Regions from separate parts of the Homo sapiens genome. Here region 2 is linked to region 1. Evidence: promoter capture Hi-C in 16 types of primary human blood cells and fetal thymus (Javierre and others, 2016). All regions are on one chromosome and are shown on one strand. The core of a region is centred on a gene start or on the middle of the fragment in contact, and the rest is flanking DNA. Distances in the headings are between cores, read along the strand shown.

Region 1 (7,848 bases), core at 2,879-5,378:
AAAAATTAGCTGGGTGTGGCGGCACGTGCCTGTATTCCCAGCTACTTGGGAGGCTGAGGCAGGAGAATCACTTGAACCAGCGAGTCGGAGGTTGCAGTGAGCCAAGATTGCGCCGCCACTGCACACTCCAGTCTGGCAACAGAGCGAGACTCTGTCTCAAAAAAAAAAAAAAAAAAATATATATATATATATATATATATATATATATATATATATATATATATATTCTTGTATGTACTGACATACTGAAGTTTGACACACTTTTTCCTAACATAAGATAGGACCATGTAGTATAAAGTGCCAACATTTTACTTACTAAGGTCATTTAGTTAAAGCACATATAAGAGGCAATGTGAAAGTCTCCACAAAAGTAGATTCCATTTTTCAAAGCACCTGGCTCCTTTTCAGTTCATAAGAGAAGTCCAATTCCTGGTGTTTTTTTTTTTTTTTTTTTTTTTTTTCAAAGTCTAGCTCTGTCACCCAGGCTGGAGTGCAGTGGCGCAATCTTGGCTTACTGTAACCTCTGCCTCCCGGATTCAAGTGATTCTCCTGCCTCAGCCTCCCGAGTAGCAGGGATTACAGGCGCCCGCCACCACGCCCAGCTAATTTTTGTTTTGTTTTTGTTTTTTTGGGGGGGAGACAGAGTCTCACTCTGTCACCCAGGCTGCAGTGCAGTGGCACGATCTTGGCTCACTGCAAGCTCCGCCTCCCGGGTTCATGCCATTCTCCTGCCTCAGCCTCCCGAGCAGTTGGGACTACAGGCGCCCGCCACCACACCTGGCTAATTTTTTGTACTTTTAGTAGAGACAGGGTTTCACCATGCTAGGATGGTCTCGATCTCCTGACCTCATGATCCGCCCGCCTTGGCCTCCCAAAGTGCTGGGATTACAAGTGTGAGCCACCCTGCCCGGCCAATTCCTGGTTATTTTTCAACAGTAATATAAGGAGAAATTGAGGGAAAATTCTTGCCTTTTTATAAAGTAATGACCAGGAACAAATTATTCAGTTACTGCAAATCTTTTGCTTTAAGCTAAAACATTTGCTTTAACAACTCTAGTTGTTAAAGAATGCTTACAAAAGTTGTTTCCATATAGACTCTGAAGTTATATTGTTTCTACTTATTTATTTACATTTATAAAAATAGCAATGGGGTTTTGCCACGTTGTCCAGGCTGGTCTCAAACTCCTGGCTGAGGCAACCGTCCCGCCTTCGCCTCCAAAAGAAGGAATGGCATATAAAAGATAGTGATCTTTTGGTTCACAGTTTTCCCAAAGGAACCTTACAGGAATGCTTTTACTACTAGAAAACATACAGCAGCAGCTGGGCGCAGTGGCTCACGCCTGTAATCCCAGCACTTTGTGAGGCCGAGGCAGTTGGATCATGAGGTCAGGCATTTGAGAACAGCCTGGCCAACATGGTGAAACCCTGCCTCCACTAAAGATACAAAATTTAGCCAGGCATGGTGGCGCATGCCTGTAATCCCAGCTACTTAGGAGGCTGAGGCAGAAGAATTGCTTGAACCCGGGAGGCGGAGGTTGCAGTGAGCCGAGTTCATGCCACTGCACTCCAGCCTGGGTGACAGAGCGAGACTGTGTCTCAGAAAAAAAAAAAAATATAGCAGCAACAGGTTCAAACCCAACTCCACTGATTTAGTTGTGTGACCTTTATCAAGTTATATAACCAGATATTAAATTTCCTTATCTTTAAAATAAGGATATTACCCATTTCATACATCCAATTATTCGGATTAAAAATAGAGATTTTTAAAATGCCTTAAAGGATGCATTTATTCAACATATATTCAGTAAGGGCCTATTTAGTTGGCTCTGGTGATTCAACAGTGGACCAGACGATGAGATGCGGCTCTAATGAAATTTCATCAGGCCAGGCGTGGTGGCTCACGTCTGTAATCCCAGCACTTTGGTAGGCTGAGGCGGGAGGATTGCTTCAGCCCAGGAGTTCGAGACCAGCCTGGGCAATGTGATGAAACCCCATCTCTACAAAAAACACAAAAATTAGGCGGGCGTGTGGTGGCATGCGCCTACAGTCCCAGCTACTTGGGAAGAGCCTGAAGTGGGAGGATCATTTGAACCCTGGGGTCAAATCTGCAGTAAGCTGTGATTGCACCACTGCACTCAAGCCTGGGCAACAGAGTGAGACCCTGTCTCAAAAAAAAAAAAGAAAAAAGAAAAGAAAAAGAAACTTAGTCTAGTGGTACAGGGTATAAGTTACTCTAAAAAAATTCATCAACTTCTATTTCCTTTTATCTGAAGAGATAGAAATAGTAAATGTTTTCTAATGAAATGTTTATAATAGGGAGAAATTTGAATTGACTTTAAAACCCATGAAGTCCTAAACAGTGTTCACCTTTATGTTCTTAATTAAATCTTGTAGCGTTAATCTCCCTGTCTGCCAAATTTCCTACTGAAAGGAATGAGGCACCAGATGGCAGGGCATTTTCTCATCTACTCCACGCACAGAAGGAGCAGCGTGAAGCTATTTCCTTTGCCGGGTTTCACTCCTACTCTCCCAAAGACAGTATTAGGAGCTGCAAAGTTGGAGAAAACCCACAGACATCATACTCAAACAAACAAACAAACAAAAAAGAGTAAGGAAGAAAGGAAAAACAAGCAAACAAAAACAAAAACATTTTTATTAAAGTTTAGTAGACATTGCAATGAGCACTCAGCACTGTTAACGATTGTTCAAACCCTTAATCTACTAAGGGGGCTTTTAAATAGCCTCTAACAATATTTAAATAGCCTCTGTTATTATTAAGAAAAATAATAGCTGGGCGTGGTGGATCACGTCTGTGTTCCCATCACTTTGGGAAGCTGAGGCAGGCAGATCATGAGGTCAGGAGTTTGAGATCAGTCTGGCCAACATAGTGAAACCCCATCTCTACTAAAAATACAAAAAAATTAGCTGGGTGTGGTGGCGTGCACCTGTAATCCCAGCTACTCAGGAGGCAGAGGCAGGAGAATCGTGTGAACCCGAGAGGCGGAGGTTGCAGTGAACCAAGATCACACCGTTGCACTGCAGCCTGGGCAACAGTGCAAGACTCTGTCTCAAAAAAAGAAAGAGAAAGAAAAAGGAAAATACTAAACCAAAAAACAAAAATTGATAGGCTGGCTGTGGTGGCTCATGCCTGTAATCCCAGTAGGAGGATTGTTTGAGCCCAGGAGTTTGAGACCAGCTTAGGCAACATAGTGAGACCCCCATCTCTACAAAAAATAGAAAAAAAAGCCCGGCGTGGTGGCATGTACCTGTAGCCCCAGCTACTTTGGAGGCTGAGGTGGGAGGATTGCTTAAGCCCCATAAGTGGAGGATGTAGTGACCAGTGATTGCACCACTGCACTCCAACCTGAGCAACAAAGAGAGGCCCTGTCTAAAAAAAGAAAAGAAAAGAAAAATAGGCTTGAAGATAAGGTGTGTCGGTCCTTAACTCCAAGGCTTGAAATTCCCTTCCATGAGACCTCCCCCCCACCTCTACCCTAGCCGGCCAAAAGGCCCAGCCTCTCTTATTATATCACAGGGCAAGGAAGAAATTCGGGCGTGAGTACCTCAAGAAAAAGAAATTCATGGCAAGCCAGGGGCTTGCAGGTGCCAGGACTGATCCCCTAACTTTAGGAGGGCTCTTCTTACCTTTCCTCGATGAAACTGATGTCGAATTAGTGGCAGAGGTGGAAGAACCAAGCACCTTTCTGGGGGCTCGAGCAGCCACCACTGTGAAGAGAGGCAAAAAAGGGTGTTCAGAAGGGGCAGGAGGGTTCCGACACCGAGTCCTGGACCCCAGCAGCTTGGAGAGGAGAGCCTGGCGATCCAGAACAGCAGGATAACCTTACCCTGCCCCTGCGACTTCCTCTTCTAGGTAAAGGGGCCAGGCGGCTACTCCCTGGCTAGCTAGATGAGTTTGGCGCACAGGGCCCAGGGGGACCTCTGGCGTCTGTCGCCCGTGGCCAGGCTGCCGGGAGGACCCCCCCGCCCTCCAGTACCACACTCGATCGCCTCACCTTTTCTGTAAGTGCCTGGAACACTGTCTGCTTTAGTCCGCACCATGTTCAAACAAGAAGAGAGGAGAGGAGAGAACGAACTGACTTCCCAGCCGAGGGTGTTTCACTGGACAAGGACCCGAAAACTATCCCGCCACAGTTTATATTGGTCTCTTTCCCGCGCGCTCCAAGGTCTCTCCCGAGCCACCGCTCCCATTGGTTCCGCGCCGTTCCCCCTGAACCAATTGCCAATGCCCAGTGGTGACAGCGGCGAGGCTTCTTGCAGCGCGAATCCGTCCATCAACACGCAAAGGCCTAGGATTCGTAGGCGCCCCAGGTGGGCGGTACCAGGACTCTCCAGGGGTACCCGACTAGTGGGTGCTAAGTTTCTGAACTACAGAAATGAGCCTGCTTAGAAAAGAAAACCTAGCAAAGACAGCGAATTACAAACGATCTTCAAAAGTTACTATAGCTTTAAGTCCATAATGATTGACTCCTGGAGGTGAAACCTGAAATTAAGCGGACTTTTTGATGCAAATCAAAATTAAAAGAACTTGAGAACTTTCCTTTAGTCCCCCAGGCATGAACTCTTTGTACAGCATCCATACTAAAACAATTCTATGGAATGGGGAAAAGGAAGCTAATACAACTTGTTTACAAGGGTTTTTTTAAATGTCTTTAGGATGATGTGAGACTAAACAAAAACTAGGGGGATTGTATATACATACACACATAAAAAGAAACTAATAAAACGTCTTCTTGAGAACCGAATGGTGTCAGAGCTCCTAAATAATCTGCCAAATCTGCCAGGAGCGGGGACTCATGGCTGTAATCCCAGCACTTTGAGAGGCCGAGGCGGGCAGATCGCTTGACCCCAGGAGGTCGAGACCAGCCTGACCAACACGGTGAAACCCGTCTCTACAAAAAATATACAAAAATTAGCCGGGTGCAGTGGCATGTTCCTGTAATCCCAACTACTCGGGAGGCTGAGGTGGGAGGATGGCTTGAGTTCAGGAGACGGGAGATTGCTTGTGCCTAGGAGGGAGAGGTTGCAGTGAGCCATAATCACACCATGCACTCCAGCCTGGGCGACAGAGCGAGATCCTGTCTCAAAAAAAAAAAAGAAAGAAAGAAAGAAAAGAAAAGAAAGAAAGAAAAGAAAAGAAAAAAGAAAAGAAAGGCAAGGCAAGGCAAGGAAATGAAATGAAACGAAACGAAACGAAAAGACCCTGCCAAATGTGGTAAGACCACATCGCTGTCACACAGTGAGCATAACTCTAGGATAAAGGGTCATAATTTTTTTCTATCTTTATGCTTACCTTCTAATTACTCACAACACCCCTGGGGAGTGATTTTCACTCTCTAAATACCATACATAAAACAGAATCGGTCAGGCATGGTGGCTCACACCTGTAATCCTAGCACTTTGGGAGGCCGAGGCAGGCAGATTGCCTGAGCTCAGGAGTTCGAGACCAGCGTGGGCAACATGGTGAAACCCAGTCTCTACTAAAATAAAAATAAAAATAAAAAATAAAAAATTAGCTGGGAGTGGCGGCATGTGCCTGTAGTCCCAGCTACTCTGGAGGCTGAGGCAGGAGAATTCCTTGAACCCGGGAGGCGGAGGTTGCAGTGAGCCGAGATCACGCTACTGCACTCCAGCCTGGGCGACAGGGCGAGTCTCCGTCTCTAAAAACAACAACAAAAAACAGGATCAGATGAACTTGCTTTGGGATGTATTCTGTTAAATGCTCACTTGAAAGGCTACTCTAGAAGTGTAAACACAGCATTAATTCTCTCCAATGAATTGCTCGAACTTAGAATTAGGCTACTCAGTACTTTAACAGAATCAACAACTGCACTCTGTAACACAGATTTAAGGAATCTAGGCAACAGGTTAAATTAACACAATAATAGAAAATGTATTGGCAATTACCTGTAGTTTTGTCTTAACCTTGGTATCTAAGGTTACAGCCAAATCAACCGGAAAAATCCACAAGACCCAGGGCATTCCTTTGTTTTTTGTCCTCATGGCCCATCTCATTGCACAGTGGTTTTTTTGTGTGTGTGTTTTTTTTTTTTTGAGATGGAGTCTCACTTCTTCGCCCAGGTTGGAATGCAGTGGCGTGTTCTCGGCTCACTGCAATCTCCGCCTCCCGGGTTCAAGCAATTCTCCTGCCTCAGCCTCCCACGTAGCTGGGATTACAGACACGTGCCAAAACACTCGGCTAATTTTTGTATTTTCAGTAGAGACAGGGTTTCACCATGTTGGCCAGGCTGGTCTCAAACTCCTGACCTCAAGTGATCTGCCTGCCTCAGCCTCCCAAAGTGCTGGGATTACAAGTGTAAGCCACCACACCTGGCCAGCACAGTGGTTCTTAAATGCCATTATTTCCTTTCCAGTTTAAGTGGCTTCTACATAGGTCTGAATTACTTAATTTGAACTTATATTCCAGATTCCTGCAGAAAGAATAAGATAGTCTTTTCTCCTTGCCCACCTGCCAAGCAAGTTGCCAGAAAGAGTATCAAATATATATTTCCACCCGGGGCAGTCTACATATTACTATAGTTGTGTGTTTGTTTTTGTTTGCATGTTTGTCATTTTAACACCAACGATGATAATGAAGAATGCATGCTAGAGAAAAAAAAAAAGTGCTGATGCCTAGTAAAAGTTCTTCATTGAAATGTTTGCTTTGCAGAAGCAATTAAACACAATTTTTATAATGAAATAAAACACAGAGAGTGGTGTGGAGTGAACCTGAAAATTTCAAAGGCCTAGGGCATTAAGAAAAGTTACAGTATGTATCAATACAATTTCTGCCTAAATTTATTTATTTTATTTATTAATTTTGAGACAGAGTCTCACTCTGTCATCCAGGCTGGAATGCAGTGGCACGATCTCAGCTCAATGCAACCTCTGTCTCCCGGTTCAAGCAATTCTCATGCCTCAGCCGCCCATGTAGCTGGGATTACAGGTATGTGCCACCACATCCAGCTAACTTTTGTATTTTCAGTAGAGACAGGGTTTTACCATGCTGGCCAGGCTGGTCTTGAACTCCTGACCTCAGGTGATCTGCCTGCCTCGGCCTCCCAAAGTGCTGGGATTACAGGTGTGAGCCACTGCAACTGGCCTGCCTACATTTATACCAAAGAAAATCTTGGCCGGCGCAGTGGCTCATGCTTATAATCCCAGCAATTTGGGAGGCAGAGGCAGGTAGATCAACTGAGGTCAGGAGTTCGAGACCAGCCTGGCCAAAATGGTGAAACCCCATCTCTACAAAAATACAAAAACTAGCCAGGCATGATGGCTGGTGCCTGTAATCCCAGCTACTTGGGAGGCTGAGGCAGGAGAATCACTGGAACCTGGGAGGTGGAGGTTGCAGTGAGCCCAGATCATGCCATTGCACTCCAGCCTGGGTGATGGAGCAAGAATGTCTAAAAAAAAAAAAAAAAGAAAAGAAAAGAAAAAAGAGATCTTTAAGTCTTGCTAAATGGGTGTGCTTGCATTGCTCAGGCAGAAATGTAATTTAACAAATGACAGTAATAATAAATTGCATTATAATTACATCATAATTAACATATGACTTATGAGAAAAGAATGCCTTTTTCTTTTTTTGAGACAGGGTCTCACTCTGTCACGCAGGCTAGAGTGCAGTGGTGTGATCACAGTTTACTGCAGCCTCGCCTCCTGAGCTCAGGTGATCCTCTTCCAAGTAGCTGGGAACACAGGAGCTTGCCACCACACCTAGCTAATTTTTAGGTTTTTTTTGTAGAGACAGGGTCTCCTGATATTGCCCAGACTGGTCTCGAATTTCCGAGTTCAACCAATCCTCCCACCTCAGCCTCCCAAAATGCTGAG
Region 2 (7,848 bases), core at 2,261-4,760, 210 kb before region 1:
TTGTCACCGCCAAATTGGCTCTAAACGTTGTGGCTTCCAAACACTTCAGGGACATTTATCCTTACCGAGCGTGGCCTTGTACGGCTCCTCCACTTGTCTTGCAAAACTTGCTGCACAACCCACTTCCTTTTTTACTGAGGCCGTCAAGTTACTACCCATTTTTCTCTCCCTTCTGTAATCTTGCTGTGCTTACTGTTGTGTATATCAATGGACATCTTATTGTATACGCTGTTCTTAACTTCCTTTACCTTTTCCCCCAATAGACTACATTTTTTTTTTTTTCTGCGGAAGGGACTGTGTTGCATTTACTCTGTCCACAGCTCCCTCACAGCGCGGCAGTACTGAGTGCCCAACAAGTCCTGGTTGGGATAGCTTCACATCCGCACTGACATGAGAAATAATTTATGCCACGGCCTGAGGATACAATGCCTTTTTCCGGAGGTCAGGAATAGTTACTAGATGTCCCCACAGGGCTATTTTAGGTCTTCACACACTTAGTGTTGTCCCAATCTACAACATAGATACTTTGGTACTGGGAGTCTTACACACCAAAACAAACCAAAACACAAACTTCCAAAATTTGGACCTATGGCGTTAAAACGTCTTTAAAACTAATTTTCAACGATTAACTTCGTAGAAATTCCAGGTCGTCACAGCACAGATTATAGGCAGGGCTCCATTTACATAAATTATGCAATGTAGTCTTCATGAGGCGCTGACCTGAGACTGAAGTTATGCAAGGCCACTGGCATTAACTTTGTTGTTCATTACAGCGGCCTTACACAGGTTGTAGAGCTTCAAGACAGTTCTCTTATTTCCCATCCTTGCACCTCAATTCAGACAACCCCAATCAGGAGGAAGTTTTAAACATTGTTATACTGACAAAGATGATCTTCCAGATCCATCTCTCATCCCTTTTTTTTTTTTTTCTCCTATTTTGTTAAGCCTCTTTCTTCACTCACTGGTCTCAGGCTGCCATAGCCAGAGAAAAATGTTTACTAAATCATGTTTTCAAAGTAGCCTCCAGCTGGGCACAGTAGCTCATACCTGTAATCCCAGCACTTTGAGAGGCTGTGGCAGGCAGATGACTTGAGTCCAGGAGTTTGAGCCTGGGCAACATGGTGAAACCTGTCTCTACAAAAAATACAAAAATTAGCAGGGCGTGGTGGTGCGCATCTGTAGTCGCAGCTACCCCAGAGGCTGAGGTGGGGGAATCACCTGAGCCCAGAAGGTCAAGGCTGCAGTGTACTGTGATCGTGAAACTGCACTCCACCCTGTCTCAAAAACAAAGAAACACTCAAAAAACCCAAGTAGCCTCCTGCACATGAGGAGCTAAGGCTAAAATGGCATCACAGCAGCCTTTCTCCCACTCCCACTTTCAAAAGAAATCAGGTTGATGGATAAAATGCTCTCAATGTGAAACTTTTCTCTCATGATTCTTCCACTGCTACCTGCCTGTGAAAAAGTAATTAAAGAGTAGTAACAAACTGGAAGGAGTCAATCATGCCCAGATTGACAGTTGTTCTGTTGGCTACATATGCAGTATGGTTTTACATTGCTCATCATAGTTCTATCTTCTGTCTGGACACATATTCCGCATTTGTAGAGGAGAATTATAAAGCTACTAAAGTTGTTCCACAGAGCAGATCCTGATTTCCTGTGTTCTACCACCTGAGAACAACAGGGACCCAGGAACTAACGTATGAGTGATAATGTCCAAATTCTTCCAGGAATATTTATTTATTTGAGACGGAGTCTTGCTCTGACGTCCATGCTGGAGTACAGTGGTGCGATCTTGGCTCATTGCAAACTCCACCTCCTGGATTCAAGCAATTGGCCTGCCTCAGCCTCCTGAGTAGCTGGGATTACAGGTGTGCACCACCACGCCCAACTAATTTTGTATTTTTAGTAGTGACAGGGTTTCACCATGTTGGCCAGGCTGGCCTCGAACTCCTGACCTCAAATGATCCACCCGCCTTGGCCTCCCGGAGTTGCTGGGATTACAGGTGAGAGCCACTGCGCCTGGCCAATATTTATTTTTTTAATTAAAAAATAATTTTCTTCTTCAGCACTCGAAGAGAGACAGCAGTATTTATTTTTGAAGTGACTCACAGGAGAAGACAATATTTAATCCAAGGAATGAAACAAGAATGCCAAATTATTTTTGTTCACAGGAGTCTTGAATCGCATCAAAGTTAGTCCTAGCTAGATTGTTAATTACAAATGAGCCGAGGGAGATTAAAAACAGACAAACCAATCAACCAACCAAACAAGCAGAAGTAGCCAAGAAAGGTAAGACATTTTATTTTACATACAAAAAGGGTGCAAACTGAGTCCTTTCCTCCCCAAACTGGGGAAGAGGTATACTTAAAGATCACATTTGTGTTTTCCATGGTGCCCTAGGAAATGGGCTACTCTGAGATCACATATCAGAACCCATTTTCCATTTTCTCCAAAGAAGGCTACTTCCTCTGCAGAGAAGATTTTCCTAATGGTGCACAAATATCTCTCCTGGAGGAACCATTTCAAATACACTTGAAATTGACATTCATGTTTAAAAATACTACAAATTTCATTTTCACAGCTGAGCTTTGTGACCAGTGCCAGGGTTTATGAAACATTATACATCTAAAAAAAAAAAAAGTAAAAAAAGAGGCATTTAACAATAATCAGACACATCCACACATTAAAACTGATTTCCACTGCTGATTTATACATTATCTAGTTGTTTAAAAATCGCAATCAACATCCCAACATCTTTTTAAGAGTACAATGGGCAAAGATCAAAGACAGATAAATAATAATATAATAAATTAGAGCATGTAATACATCCTATGGGAATTGCTGAATCAACATTATTTTCCATTGGGGGGTATATATTTTTGGTTTATCTTTATCTTTTCTGCTGTTATTTTTTTTCTCTGCTTGATAAAATGGGGCTCATTCCTAAAGCCAGCTTGCTGAGACACTAATTTCAGAAGCTCACTTGTCACTTGTTTAACCTCTGAGAATACTCAGGAACACATGGTTCCCAGCAGCTTGGGCTGGGTCTTTATGGAAGTGAAATGCACATAGATGAACACACGCACTCACGTGCGCACACACACCACACACACACACAGACACGCAGTCACACACTTCCATCTGTAAATATATTTCTCCCCAAAGAAATGGCTCATCTTTCCTGAGACATTCCTAATAGACTGATAAGCCTTCTAAAAAAGGCTTTTGGTGCAAGGGCTGGCCTGGGATTTGGTCTGGAGCTCATGAACTGAAAATGTCTCACCTGTACTGAAAGAGGGGTGGGTGGGGACATTCAGAACAGCTGTCCTCTTGTGGGTGTTACTGGAATGGCTGCACCACACCCCCACTTATTACCATGAATAATCCTCTGCTCTGAGACCTTATAGATGGTGATGGCACTGGGAAAGTGATTGTGAGGAGTAAAAGAAGAAAAATAAAAGAAATTCTGTCTACAGAACGGAGGTTTCTTTGTAACATCAGGTTTGGTAATCAAACTAGAAATACAAGGAATACGTGTTCACTTTTTCCCTTGAAAGGTGATTTACAAATACCGGAAGTGGGTTTTCTGGTTGTGTTTTGAGAAAATATGTCAACTACCACTGTGTATTATCCAGGGAACCTACTCACTATTTTGAATACAATGAGAAAACTATTTTTTTGTACTTAGTCACCTGCAAAAGGAGTTAGGAAAAACATTTTTAAGACTGCTTGCTGGACAAAAGACTTTCAAGATTCCTTACTTGTGGCTAAAACATTGCTCAAAAAGGATAAACCCACATAAGGGCCATGGTTGCCTCTTCTTTTTCTTATTCAGAAACAAAATCACCCCCCATACACCAAAAAACAAACTGAAAACCAAAAACAACAACAAAAAAACAAAACCCAAAGCCAAAGGAATCCCAATTTGATTCCTATCAACCCCTCATGGGAAAGACTAGGAGTCTCTGCCATCGACCTCTAGACAGGACTTCCCTGGAGTCTGCAAAAGCAAGAACCCGAGAGATAAGTGCCTGTCACTTACGTGGCCAATTCAGATGGGTTGCCTAATTATCCTGGCTCCCTGAGGGTTTCTGGAATTCATCTGCCCACCATAGGGCAATGGTGGGGATGGTGGCAGTGGCGTGGCAAAGGCAATGTTGGCTGTATGGTGTTGCAGGCTCCCAATCTGAGAAACGAACCTTAATATGGTTCTGACACTGGAGACAATGTTGTTAGGGCAACTCAATGGGAATGGAGAGCTGGTTTAAATGTGAAATGGAAGAGGTGGCTGGAACACAGGAGGCATGTGGGCTTGGGAGATGCATCAAACGAAAGTTCCTCTGAGAAGACGTTTTCTTGGCTGCCATGGAAGTTCTCATTTTTGAGAAATGCAAGCCATGCTTGCTCACTGGGAGGAGGAATGGATTTTATCTTTTACATAAAAAAGTTAAGGCTATAATCTTTAGTAACCACTTTGACGTTACATTATCATTGTTACATATTTCTGGCATTAAAAGTGGTTACTAGCACTGAAAATCAACACTGAATATGCACTACCAGCATATCTTCCCACTGAACTAAGTTTGGAAATTACTTTAGGGGTGATGGTCACCTTTTCTGGCTGATGGACAGGGACTGTTTTCTAAGTACTTGGAGTTCATTTAGAAAAAAGAGACAATCAACATGTCTAGAAACCTCAGGATCTCTGCTGTCATCTGTAGCTCATGCATTCCAATATAAAATGGGATTTTAACTGGAAGCTAATCTTGTACCTTCCTAGACCCTGTTTATTGCTGGACAGGCTCCATAATAGCAGAAGAATGTTAATTAAGGCAGTCATGAGTGCACACTGGCTGTCAGGATACTCTATCCACCCTTGGGGGCAGTCTGGAGTGAGATCTCTGGAAAGCACCAAGGTGCGTAGAGCAACTTGACCAACTCTTACTGCAGAGACACAAGTGATACCCTGGTCAAAAGGGAGTAGGGGGGACCATTTATGCCTTGGTGGAGTCTTGGCCTGTGTGCCTCAAATCTGTTTAGGATGCAATGTCTGAGGGACTGTAGAGCTTGGGAAAACTCCTAATGTATACTATTAAGGGTTTTTATGAATAGATGCTGAGTTAGCTTTCAGGAAAAACAACTGCATCAATCCTAAAGAAAAAGATCGTTAGGCACCATACTTGTGAAATGGAGAAAGCTCAGAAACTACAGAGCAAGTGGATGGGTGGGGACAGTCAGCGAGTGCATGCCCTAACCCCAAGGATCTGGCTGAGGCATACAGCTAAGGAACTGTAGCAGTAGGGTTGAGGAGGGAGCCCTGATTCGCTGATGGGCCTGAAACAAATGGCCAATTGCATCTAGGGTACTCAGGTTTTTTGCTTATTTTTAAGGAAGATCCCACCAGAATCTCCCAGGTCTGGGACCACTTTGAAGTGCCAATGGCTCTGGAGGGATCACCATTACTCTGCATGCTAAAGGGACCTGGGATTCTTTACCCTTGTTATAAAAACCAAATATCTAGTAAGAGATTTGTGAGGTTGGAAGGTGAGAACAGTGTCTTAGGAAGTACAGTCCCCTACAACTGATCCAGTAAAAATTTTAAGACAAAAAAAAAGTCGCAAATCCAGCTGCAAGGCAGCTTGCCCTGCAGCCAAGCTGGTCAGTGCCTTTGCTTTTGTGTGTGTGTGTGTGGAAGCAGGGTGAGGGGCTGAAGAGAGGCACTCAGTAGAGTATAGAGTGCCAGGATGCTCCAGGCATTCCCACCATTTCCCTCTGCCCTTTTTTTTTTTTCTTTTTAGACAGAGTCTCACTCTGTTGCCCAGGCTGGAGTGCAGTGGTGCGATCTCGGCTCACTGCAACTTCTGCCTCCCAGGCTCAAGTGATTCTCCTGCCTCAGCCTCCCGAGTAGCTGGGACTACGGGAGCATGCCACCATGCCCAGCTAATTTTTGTATTTTTTGTAGAGACGGGGTTTCACCATGTTGGCCAGGCTGGTCTCGAACTCTTGACCTCACATGATCCACTTGCCTTGGCCTCCCAAACTGCTGGGATTACAGGCGTGAGCCACTGCACCTGGCCCCCCCTCTGCCCTCTCTTGAGAGGCAAGGCATTTTCTATACAGGGGTGAGGAAAAGTTAAACTTTCTATACAGTAAGTTAGCAATGCCCAAATCCCAACTGAGAAACGATGTAAATTTTAGTGATAGGGCTGTAACCACTAGGTAATGGCAAGGACATAAATCCCAATATTCACAGTCCTTGTGGGGAAGGGGTGTGATATTGTATCTCCCTGCCACTTTATGTTTCATATATAGAAACATTTATAGAAATGACATATTACCATCTTTTCATAAGCTAAGCAGGTTTGATGCCAGTGAAATGATATTCCCTAGCCAAGGTCCAATGGAACAGATGAAGCCCAGTACCTCTGATCCATGTTAATGTTATTTCTGCTCTGTGTAAGGTACATCAAGGGAATTTTTCAAGAAATGGCAACTATCAGAAAATATCCCCACACCCTCCAGTACAAAAGACAGCCCTGCACCTCAAACCAGAGGTGAAGACTTCTATGGTCCACAAACCATCAGACTAAGTCACCCACCAGCCACTGTGCTCCATGGTTAGCTCTCTACTCCCAGATACAAGACCTCTTTCCTGATGTAAATGACCCTTTCTCTTCTGTCACCGCTGGAATGAGGAGTCATTGTTTGGTTAAGCCACTAAACTCAAATGAAAATTGGGCATGAGAAGAGTAACTCCACACATGAAAGACTTGTCAAACAGTGAATGAGGAACCAGATCCTTCACAGTAGTACCTCATATGAAAACACCATGGGGGGAGGCCTAGGGCATACTGGGAAAAACATGCTTAGAGGCACGGCCACCTTTCTGGAAGGAGTCCAATTGAGAAGATAATTTCAGACCTTTCATTCCAGTCTCCTTTTCCCTGGAATGTTCCAGCACCAAACAATCTTTCCCTCCTTTTAAATGCGGCCCCATATACTGCATCCTAAGCCTACTGCTATGGACCTGCTGGGAGAAGATCTTCATAAGCTTGGTTTCTGATAAGGCAGGCCAGCCCAAATGCTACAGCTCAGCTATTGGGGCAGATAGGATACACCGATTTTCTTTTCCTGGCCCTATAATGCCACACCCTGAGGTCCCTCTGGCAGGTGGAAGGCAGGTTCACTGTCCTCTTTTTTTCCACTAATGGCAATATGGTGGTGGCTGTTTCATCACTAATTTTTCCCCCAAGTCACCAGGACGTCACATGGCTATCTAGTTGGAAGTCCCTGGCAGCATGGGAAACAATTTCAATTTTTTTTTGTTAAGCATCTCCTTCTCTGGGATGAGCTGTTTCCTGGTCACAGTCTGGCTCGGCTGGCTCATCTCATGTTCTGGAGAGCTAGGTTTTCAAACTGTAAGCTGATTAGGTCAAGATGCTCTGGTAGGGACATTCTTCAGCTGCTGAGAAGATGAATGAAAATTCAAGTATGTTTTCTTGCCAACCTGAGTGTTCACTCAGAATGACACCGAGTTTGGCTTCTCTTCTGGGTGCTGCAGATCAAACTCTTTCCACTGAGAATGTCCTCTGGACCCATGTTCTCTCTGAATGGCTTGGCCGGCCCCATCCCCCTCAAAACAGGTAAAAGTAAAACCCCCAATATAACCAGACACAATATGCATCTGCCATGTTTTTGTTTTTGTTTTTTTTAAAAAAACTAAAAGTGCAACAAAGTCAGTTTTCTTTCCTTTGCTTAGAACAATTTTCATTGTCCTACTACCTGGAGAAAAGAGTTTGTCAAAAAAGCTAAGAACGCCAACACACAGGGACAGTAGACTGCAGA

What was found. The method cuts DNA at HindIII sites, captures the fragments that hold promoters and counts their contacts. A CHiCAGO score of 5 or more calls a contact.
Region 2: a fragment that was not itself captured here is called in contact with the fragment with the promoter of PCLAF in region 1 in 1 of 17 cell types (erythroblasts); the score reaches 6.0 in erythroblasts.

The regions. Positions count from the first base shown.
Region 1 is chr15:64,377,313-64,385,160 of GRCh38, forward strand. PCLAF (PCNA clamp associated factor) reads right to left here and starts at 4,129. Exons shown (of 4, transcript NM_014736.6): 1 at 4,014-4,129; 2 at 3,646-3,726. The coding sequence starts at 4,059. RefSeq lists an enhancer at 3,790-4,300. The HindIII fragment of the contact is 13,260 bases long and covers 1-7,848 here.
Region 2 is chr15:64,163,453-64,171,300 of GRCh38, forward strand. It overlaps CSNK1G1 (casein kinase 1 gamma 1), which reads right to left. Exons shown (of 12, transcript NM_022048.5): 12 at 2,073-7,848. Among named protein-coding and RNA genes, the nearest start is that of PPIB, 4.4 kb to the left of the region's middle. RefSeq lists an enhancer at 35-84. The HindIII fragment of the contact is 7,083 bases long and covers 1-7,052 here.